Linked DNA regions of Homo sapiens: region 1 is linked to region 2. Evidence: promoter capture Hi-C in human tissues and cell types (Jung and others, 2019). All regions are on one chromosome and are shown on one strand. Each heading gives the region's core, a stretch centred on a gene start or on the middle of the fragment in contact. The rest is flanking DNA. Distances are from core to core; before and after follow the strand shown. Region 1 has its middle 24 kb from the start of QSER1. Region 2 holds the start of TCP11L1 (t-complex 11 like 1).

Region 1 (5,177 bases), core at 1,468-3,967, 170 kb after region 2:
CATTAAAAAGAAATCTTCTGGCTGGGTGCGGTATCTCAACGCCTGTAATCCCAGCACTTTGGGAGGCTGAAGTGGGCAGATTGCCTGGGCTCAGGAGTTCGCGACCAGCCTGGGCAACACAGTGAAACCCCATCTCTACTAAAATACAAAAAAAAAAAAAATTAGCCAGGGGTGGCAGCATGTGCCTGTAGTCCCAGCTACTCGGGAGGCTAAGGCAGGAGAATTGCTTGAACCTAGTAGGTGGAGGTTGCAGTGAGCCGAGATGGCGCCACGGCACTCCAGCCTGGGCGACAGAGCGAGACTCCGTCTCAAAAAAAAAAATCTTCACAACCTTGAGTAGACAATGATTTCTTAAACATGAATTCACCATCTTCTTGGTTTTGCTGGCTTTCCAAATAAATCTGGCTTTTCCTCCCACCAACCCTCATTTCTCGTGTCTGGTTTTTGAGCAGCAAGCAGCCAAACATAGGTTCAGTTACAAAATTTGGCACCCAATGTGGGGCTGTGTGCCCTCTGGTGGTCTAGCCTGCCTGGTTTCCATGGATGGAGCAATTGGCTGCAGCAGTGCACCAGGGCTTACCTGTTCATGTTATCAGGCAGAGCAGCAACCGCTTATGAGTGCTAGTTGCTGCTCATGGCTAGCTGCCTCTGTGGCTGGGATTCCAGGAGTGTCCTAGCAGCAACTGAGAAATCTTTTGTCTTGGGGACCCTCTCTTCTGTCCCCTTCATGGAATCAGCAGCCTGTAACACTTTGGTGGTGCAAGTGGTATCCAAGGGAGTTGATGGGCCCCAAGACTGGGTAAGTCAAACCAGGGCACACACGGGGAATCCTCTGTCTATGCTATTTGAGCTTTTGTGTCATTTGGACATAGCATGGGTTGCTTGTGTATCATTTGGTGTAAGATAAGATTCTTGATAACATTTCTGCAGTGCCCCTTTTCAGGAATGAGTTTGGGAGTGTTACATTTGTTTTGGTTTCTATGTGTTTATTAGTTTATTATTATTATTATTATTTTTTTTTTTTTTTTTGAGATGGAGTCTCGCTCTGTCACCCAGGCTGGAGTGCAGTGGTGCGATCTTGGCTCAATGCAACCTCCGCCTCCCGGGTTCAAGTGATTCTCCTGTCTCAGCTTCCTGAGTAGCTGGGATTACAGGCAGGCGCTACCACACCTAGCAAATTTTTGTATTTTTAGTAAAGACGGGGTTTCACCATGTTGGCCAGGCTGGTCTTGAACTCTTGTCCTCTGGTGATCCACCTGCCTCGGCCTGCCAAAGTGCTGGGATTACAGGCATGAGCCACCGCGCCCGGCCTAATTATTATTTTTAAATTTTATTTTATTTTTATTTTTTGAGATGTAGTCTCGCTGTGTTGCCCAGGCTAGAGTGCAGTGGGGCAATCTCAGCTCACTGTAACCTCTACCTCCCGGGTTCAAGCAATTCTCCTGCCTCAGCCTCCCGAGTAGCTGGGATTACAGGTGCGCACCACGATGCCTGGCTAATTTTTGTATTTTTAGTAGAGATGGGGTTTCACCATGTTGGTCAGGCTGGTCTCGAACTCCTGACCTCATGATCTGCCTGCCTTAGCCTCCCAAAGTGCTGGGATTACAGGCATGAGCCACTGTGCCTGGCCTTAATTATTATTTTTTAAAAGAATTTCAGGCCGGGCGCAGTGGCTCACACCTGTAATCCCAGCACTTTGAGAGGCCAAGACAGGCGGATCACCTGAGGTCAGGAGTCTGAGACCAGCCTGGCCAACATGGTGAAACACCGTCTCTGCTAAAAATACAAAAATTAGCCGGGTGTGGTGGCTCGCGCCTGTAATCCCAGCTACTCCAGAGGCTGAGGCAGGAGAATTGTTTGAACCGGGAAGGCGGAGGTTGCAGTGAGCGGAGAATACACCATTACACTCCAGCCTGGGCAATAAGAGTGAAACTCCGTCTGAAAAAAAAAAAAAAAAAGGAATTTCAGTTAGTTTATCTTGAGACATAGCTTACATTAAAATTATATTAAAACAAGCTTTAATTTTGAGCCATACATTGATGGATTATTTTATCACAAGTAGTTCTTTATTTCTACTCACATTATTTTATTTTATTTTCACTTTATTTTATTTTTTACTCTATTGTTTTACTTTTAGGTTCAGAGGTACATGTGAAGGCTTGTTATATAGGTACACTTGTGTCATGGGGGTTTGTTGTACAGATTATTTCATCACCCAGGTATTAAGCCTAGTACACAATAGTTATTTTTTCTGCTTCTTCCTTCTTCCCACCCTCCACCCTCAAGTAGACCCTAGTGTCTGTTGTTCCCTTCTTTGCGTTCATGAGTTATTTAGCTTCCACTTATAAGTGAGAACATGTGGGATTTGGTTTTCTCTTCCTGCGTTAGTGTGCTAAGGATAATAACCTCCAGCTCTATCCATGTTCCTGCAAAAGACATGATCTTGTTCTTTTTCATGGCTGCATAGTATTCCATGGTGTATATGTACCACATTTTCTTCATCCAGTCTATCATTGATGGGCATTTAGGTTGATTCCATGTCTTTACTTTTGTGAATAGTGCTGCAGTGAACATTCGTGTGCATGTGTCTTTGTGTTAGAATGATTTATATTCCTCTGGGTGTATATACCCGGGAATGAGATTGCTGGGTTAAATAGTTCTGTTTTTAGTTCTTTGAGGAATCGCCATACTGTTTTCCACAATGGTTGATCTAATTGACATTTTCACCAACAGTGTATAAGTGTTCCCTTTTCTTTGCAACCTCACCAGCATCTGTTATTTTTTGACTTTTTAATAATAGCCATTCTGACTGTGCGAGATGGTATCTCATTGCGGTTTTGATTTGCATTTCTCTAATGTTCAGTGATATATTTTTTTTCTTATATGCTTGTTGGCCACATGTATGTCTTCTTTTGAAAAGTGTCTGTTCATGTCCTTTGCCCACTTTTAATGGGATTATTTTTCTTTTCTCTTTTCTTTTTTTTTTTTTTTTTTTTTGAGATGAAGTCTTGCTCTGTCACCCAGGCTGGAGTGCAGTGGTGCAATCTCGGCTCACTGCAACCTCCGCCTTCCAGGTTCAAGCTATTCTTCCACCTCAGCCTCCCGAGTAGCAGGGACTACAGGTGCATGCCACCATGCCCAGCTACTTTTTGTATTTTTAGTAGAGACAGGGTTCCACCATATTGGCCAGGCTGGTCTCGAATTCCTGACCTTGTGATCCACCCACCTCGGCCTCCCAAAGTGCTGGGATTACAAGCGTGAGCCACTGCGCCCAGCCTGATTGTTTTTCTATTGTAAATTTAAGTTCCTTATAGATGCTGGATATTAGACATTTGTCAGATGCATAGTTTGCAAGTATTTTCTCCCATTCTGTAGGTCCTCTGTTTACTCTGTTGATAGTTTCTTTTGCTGTGCAGAAGCTCTTAAATTTAATTAGATCCCATTTGTCAATTTTTGGTTTTGTTGTGATTGCTTTTGGTGTCTTTGTCATGAACTCTTTTCCCATTCCTATGTCCAGGATGGTATCACCTAGGTTGCCTTCCAGGGTTTTTATAGTTTTGGGTTTTACATTTAAGTCTTTAATCCATCTTGAGTTGATTTTTGTATATGGTGTAAGGAAGGAGTCCAGCTTCAAACTTCAGCATATAGCTAACCAGTTATCCTAGCACCATTTATTGAATAGAGAATCTTTTTCCCATTTCTTGTTTTTGTCAGCTTTGTCAAAGACCTTGTGGTCATAAGCGTGCAGCCTTGCTTCTGAACTCTCTATTCTGTTCCCTGGGTCTATGTGTCTGCTTTTGTACCAGTACCATGCTGTTTTGGTTACTGTAGCCCTGTAGTATAGGTTGAAGTTGGGTAACATGATGCCTCCAGCTTTGTTCTTTTTGCTTAGGATTGCTTTGGCTATTTGGGCTCTTTTTTTGTTCTGTATGAATTTTAAAATAGTTTTTTTCTAATTCTGTGAATAATGTCATTGGAAGTTTGATAGGAACAGCATTGAATCTGTAAATTGCTTTGGGGAGTATGGCCATTTTAGTGATATTGAATCTTCCTGTCCATGAGCATGGGATGTTTTCCATTTGTTTGTGTCTTCTTCGATTTCTTTGAGCCATGTTTTGCAATTGTCATTGTACAGATCATTCACCTCCTTGGATAGCTGTATTCCTATGTATTTTATTCATTTTGTGGCAATTGTGAATGGGATTGCCTTCCTCAATTTGGTTCTCAGCTTGGCTGTTGGTGGTGTATAGGAATGCCAGTGATTTTTATACATTGATTTTGTATCCTGAAACTTTGCTGAAGTTGTTTGTTTATCAGCTGAAGGAGCTTTTGGGCCGAGACTATGGGGCTTTCTGCATATAGAATCATGTTATCTACAAACAGGGATAGTTTAACTTCCTCTTTTCCTACTTGGATGCCCTTTATTTCTTTCTCTTGCCTGATTGCGCTGGCTAGGACTTTCAGTACTATGTTGAATAGAAGTAGTAAGAGAGAGGAATGCTTGTCTTGTGCCAGTTTTCAAGGGGAATACTTCCAGCTTTTGCCCATTTGGTATAATGTCAGCTGTGGGTTTGTCATAGATGGCTTTTATTATTTTGAGGTATGTTCCTTCAATACGTAGTTCATTGAGAGTTTTTAACATGAATGGATGTTGAATGTTATCAAAAGCTTTTTCTACATCTATTGAGATAATCATGTGGTTTTTTACTTTAGTTCTGTTTATGTGCTAAATCACATTTATTGATTTGTGTATGTTGAACCAAATTTGCCTCCTGAGGATGAAGCCTACTAGATCATAATGGATTAGCTTTTTGATGTGCTGCTGGATTTGGCTTGCAAGTATTTTGTTGAGGATTTTTGAATCAATGTTCATCAAGGATATTGGCCTGAAATTTTCTTATTTATGTGTTTCTCTGCCAGGTTTTGGTATCAGGATCATGCTGGCCACATAGAATGAATTGGGGAGGAGTCCCTCCTTTTCAATTTTTTGGAATAGTTTTAGTAGGAGTGGTACCAGCTTTTCTTTATACATCTGGTAGAATTTGGCTGCAAATTCTTCTCATCCTGGGCTTTTTTTGGTTGGTAGGCTGTTTATTCCTGATTCAATGTAGGAGCTTGCTATTGGTCTGTTCGGGGGGTCAATTTCTTCCTGGTTCAGTCTTGGGAGGGTGTATATG
Region 2 (4,589 bases), core at 828-3,327:
CTCCCCAGTAGCTGGGATTATAGGCGCCCACCACCACGCCTCGCTAATTTTCGTATTTTTAGTAGAGATGGGGTTTCACTATGTTGGCCAGGCTTGTCTCGAACTCCTGACCTCTAGTGATCCGCCCGCCTCAGCCTCCCAAAGTGCTGGGATTATAGGCGTGAGCCACTGCACCTGGCCCAGGCCTGTATTAATATGAAAGTTGTTTTCATGTATTTTCCCTTTCGAGACCCATCTTAGCTTCCAACACCCCACTGGAGACACCCATCTCCTCTGTGTCCTAAATCCTATTAGGGTCAGGAAATGCTCCAAGATCCAAAGGATAACATTACCAGCATATTCTGTGAGAAACGACAAACAAAACGCTGCTAATTTTATTATCTTCACATGCTGAGAAGGAGCCCAGGAGGGATGAAGTAATTCATTCTGTGCAGTGAGGAGGAAAGGGAGGATTTCTAGGTCTCTAATGCTCAGCTTAGTAAACTAACCCCATCCTTAAGATTGAGTTCAAGTCCTGTCTCTTCCCAGGACACTTCCCGGACCTCACCAGTGATTGCACCTTTCTCAACTCCTGCAGGGCTGGCTAGTTGACATTTGGCATTTGTCACTGCCTTAAATTCAATTCAAAGCGTGCTTATTTAAATAGAAAGATGCAAATACATAGTCTAGAGGGGGAGGCAGACAGGCTTACAAGGAGCCATAATGAAACTTAAGTGGCATTATGAAATTGCCCAGGGAATATAGCAGAGGAAGAAACTAACTCTGCCTGGGAGGAGATTGAGAAAACCTTCCCAGAAAAGATGACATTTGAACTGATCTTTAAAAGGAGTAGGATTTCACCTAGTTAAAACATGTCTGGAGGGGGAGAGGAGGGGGAGAGGAGGTGAAAAGGAGGGCATTTCACTCAGAGGGCAGAAGCCAAGGCACAAGAAAATGAGAAAAGGAAGTGGCTAGAGATGATGGAAAGATGCGTTGGGGCCAGATGGTAAAAGTGCTAGTTTTTATTTTAAAATTCCCCACCTAGATTTCGAACTTCTTAAGAGCCAGGACCAGTCATATTCCCCACTTATGCTCCATCTGTATATCCCCCAAATAGACACCCACAAGTATCTGTTGATAGAGATGAATCCCTACGTCATCTCTGTGATGTCACTGTATCTGGGAGGCTGGGCGTTGGTTTCAGACATACCTGGGCCCCAATTCTGGCTCTTTACTAGCTGTGTAACTTCAGTGTCCTCCTCTGTAAAACACAGCTACCTACCTGCTCGGTTTGGGGGGAGATGAAACGAGGGATTGTGCACGGCAGGCCTTCTACAAATGGTAACTCTAATTAAAGGGCTCTAGGATGCGGCCACGAACCATTTAATTTGCTTATATCGCGCGCATCCATTCAACCCCCACTGTGTCTAAAAAGAGAGCCGAGGGGAGGAGGATCCTCGCACTTGCCAAGAAGACGGTCATCCGTCGGCGCTGCACGCGGGCCTAGGCTGGACACAAGAGGCTCCCCAGCAGAAAGGGTCTTTCGGCAAAAGAAAAAAGGGGCTCTGTCCCCCGGCGCCGGGAATCCCCTCCTCTGGCACTGAGCTCCACTCGCGCCCGGCGTCCGGATTCCGTTGTAAACAGCTGTTCAGGCCAGCGAGGGAGTGGCAGGGCCGGGAGTAGGGGAGGACGCGGGCGCGCCGAGAGGACAGCCTCGAGGGGTGAGCTCCACCCGCCCGCGGACCCCGCCTCTTCCTCGCCTGCCCCCGACATCCCGGGATGGGATCCGACGGGAAGAGGCGAAGAGATGCCTGCGACTTGGACCGCGCGCCTCCCGGACGGGCCCCGCCAGCCTCCGCCCCAGCTCCCGCTCTCACCTGCCACGGAGTCGGCGTTCTCCCTCCTGCCGCTCCCGCCGCGAATCAGGCGCGGGCTGGCGCCGCGGCGGAAGCCGGAGGGATGCGCGGCAGGCAGGGGCGGTTCAGCCTCTGCCCCTCCGAGGCCGCATCCCTCGCCACGCGGCGGGCGGTCCTCCCAGCCCGACTCGGGTGGGCAGCGGTCAGAGCGGCCGCTTCTCAGCATCAGGAAGGAGGAGACTGCTCTTGGCCGGGAGGCGCCAGCCCAATATAGGGCAGCGCCATGTCTTCGTACGGAAAGGCGGGAGGGTCTTTCCCCTGCTTGCCGAAGGGGTTCAGTAAGCGGTGACTCGCAGCTGGGCGGCGCCGTGTTTCCTCAGGGAGAGGTGGAAAACATGGCCGATGACCGCTCAGGGGGCTCCGTGGCCAGTGGCTCCCAGCCAAGAGTCGCCCGCCGCACGCAGTGAGGCGCCATGTTTTCGTACGGAAACGCGAGAGGCATGGCCGAGTGCCCGCCGATGAGTCTCAGCTGGCGGTGGCTCGAAGCTGGGGATGGCCCGCCCCTAGGCGCCATGTTTCCATACGGAAAGACGGAACGCGCGCCGCATCCCAGCCGCTGGTGCGGGTGACGCGAGGAGAAAGGGAGGCGGAGAAGGCGCGGGTCAGTCAAAAGAAGGAATAAGAAGCCATTGCATCTGAAACCTTCCCCGCCCGTTCTTTGAAATTTAATTTTGCCATCCTGTTTGTAGCTACACAAAGTTTATTCCCCTTCTCTCATTTCCTCAGCTTTAAAAAAAAGTTAGTCCGGGCGCAGCAGCTCACGCCTGTAATCCCAGCACTTTGAGAGGCCGAGGCGGGCGGATCACGAGGTCAAGAGATCGAGACCATCCTGGCCAACATGGTGAAACCTCGTCTTTACTAAAAATACGAAAATTAGCTGGGTGTGGTGGCGCGCGCCTGTAGTCCCAGCTACTCGGGAGGCTGAGGCAGGAGAATCGCTTGAATCTGGGAGGCGGAGGTTGCAGTGAGGCGAGATCGCGCCACTGCACTGCGGCCTGGAGACAGACCGAGACTCTGTCTCAAAAACAAACAAACAAAAAAAAACTACAAAAAAGCAGATGGGGTGACATTGGTGCTTTCAAACACTGCTTCTAAATAGATCACATGTGGGTAGTTATTGCTAACGTATTGAAGGCCGAGTGCAATACCAGACCCTCAAACCATTTACTAACTTGCACATTAAAGTCTTTGCTTTAAAAAAAAAAAAAAAAAGACAAAAACAGAAGTTCTCTGGTGAAGATTCACTTTTTGGAGGAAAAAACACCAAAAACCCTTAAGATACTCAACTAAATGGAACTGTTAAGATCTACAAAGAATGGCTGGGCGCGGTGGCTCACACCTGTAATCCTAGCTCTTTGGGAGGTCGGAGGTGGGTGGATCACAAGGTCAGGAGTTCGAGACCAGCCTGGCCAATATGGTGAAACCTCGTTTCTACTAAAAATACAAAAAAATTAGCCGGGCATGGTGGCATATGCCTGTAATCCCAGCTACTTGGGAGGCTGAGGCAGGAGAATTGCTTGAATCCGGGAAGCAGAGGTTGCAGTGAGCCGGGATCGCACCACTGCACTGCAGCCTGGGTGACAGAGTGAGATTCCGTCTGAAAAAAAAAAAAAAGATCTGCAAAGAAAACATGCAGTTCTTCTGAGTCTAAACTCGTACCATTAAGTCTCTAGTGTTTTTCAGCCCTGACTACAAATACAACTTGGAATCTCAGGGGCAGGGGTTGGAAAAGTATCATCCAAAACTCCGGGGAGGGTGATGCCAGACAAGTTTTAAAAGCTCCCTGGGGAAGCAGGCTAGAACCTTCCTTAAAAGATTAATATGGCTGGGTGCAATGGCTCACGCCTGTAATCCTAGCTCTTTGGGAGGTCGAGGCGGGCGGATCACCTGAGGTCAGGGGTTCAAGACCAGCCTGGCCAACATGGCAAAACCCCGTCTCTACTAAAAATACAAAAATTAGCTGGGCATGGTGGCAGGCGCTTGTAATCCCAGCTACTGGAGAGGCTGAGGCAGGAGAATCCCTTGAACCCAGGAGGCAGAGGTGGCAGTGAGCGGAGATCGCACCCCTGCACTCCAGCCTGGGAGACAGCGAGACTACATCTCAAAAAAAAAAAAAAAGGTTAATATAACCAATTTTCACTTGGTTAGGAGCAAGTGAATGAATATACTCAAGTTCCACCTGGAGAGGATACTGCAACAATACCAAAATCACTGATTTAATTTGGGATATTTCACTTGTAATCTTTTAATGTTTTGTACTGTTTCAATATTCAAAAAATACATATAGACACATTCCATTTTGATCTTTGGCTGCAAGGACTGGAAATTCAAATTACGTTAAGGTAAAGGGAGTTCACTGCAAGGACATAGGACTTGGAGGGAGAAAGGTGGCAGCCACTCTAGAGGTCGGCTACTGCTCCTGTACACACAGGATCCCTCTTGTCACATCTCTGCTTGCTGTAGTCCATTCCACTCTTTATGCTACAGGCTGGTTTCTGTACTTTCTTAATTGACGCGCCTCATAATTTAAATTTACCTATATAGAATTTGATTGGCCAAACTGATTTTTGAACAAAGTTAGTCTCATTAGCCTCCAGGGAAGCTGCCCTTGGATCAGGTGCTCAACCTTGGTCTACTCTGCTAGGATGATGGCAAGACTTACGGTCAACTAGGCATTAGGTGTCTATGTGGGAA

The links. The method cuts DNA at HindIII sites, captures the fragments that hold promoters and counts their contacts. A contact is called where the count stands out against the background at its distance.
Region 1: a fragment that was not itself captured here is called in contact with the fragment with the promoter of TCP11L1 in region 2 in 1 of the 25 tissues and cell types used here (H1 embryonic stem cells).

Annotation. Positions count from the first base shown.
Region 1 is chr11:32,866,236-32,871,412 of GRCh38, reverse strand. No RefSeq gene overlaps it. Among named protein-coding and RNA genes, the nearest start is that of QSER1, 24 kb to the left of the region's middle. The HindIII fragment of the contact is 7,091 bases long and covers 1-5,177 here.
Region 2 is chr11:33,037,060-33,041,648 of GRCh38, reverse strand. It overlaps TCP11L1 (t-complex 11 like 1), which reads right to left and starts at 2,077. Exons shown (of 10, transcript NM_018393.4): 1 at 1,857-2,077. RefSeq lists enhancers at 1,257-1,576, 2,057-2,406, 2,127-2,674 and a silencer at 1,677-2,076. The HindIII fragment of the contact is 11,210 bases long and covers 1-4,589 here.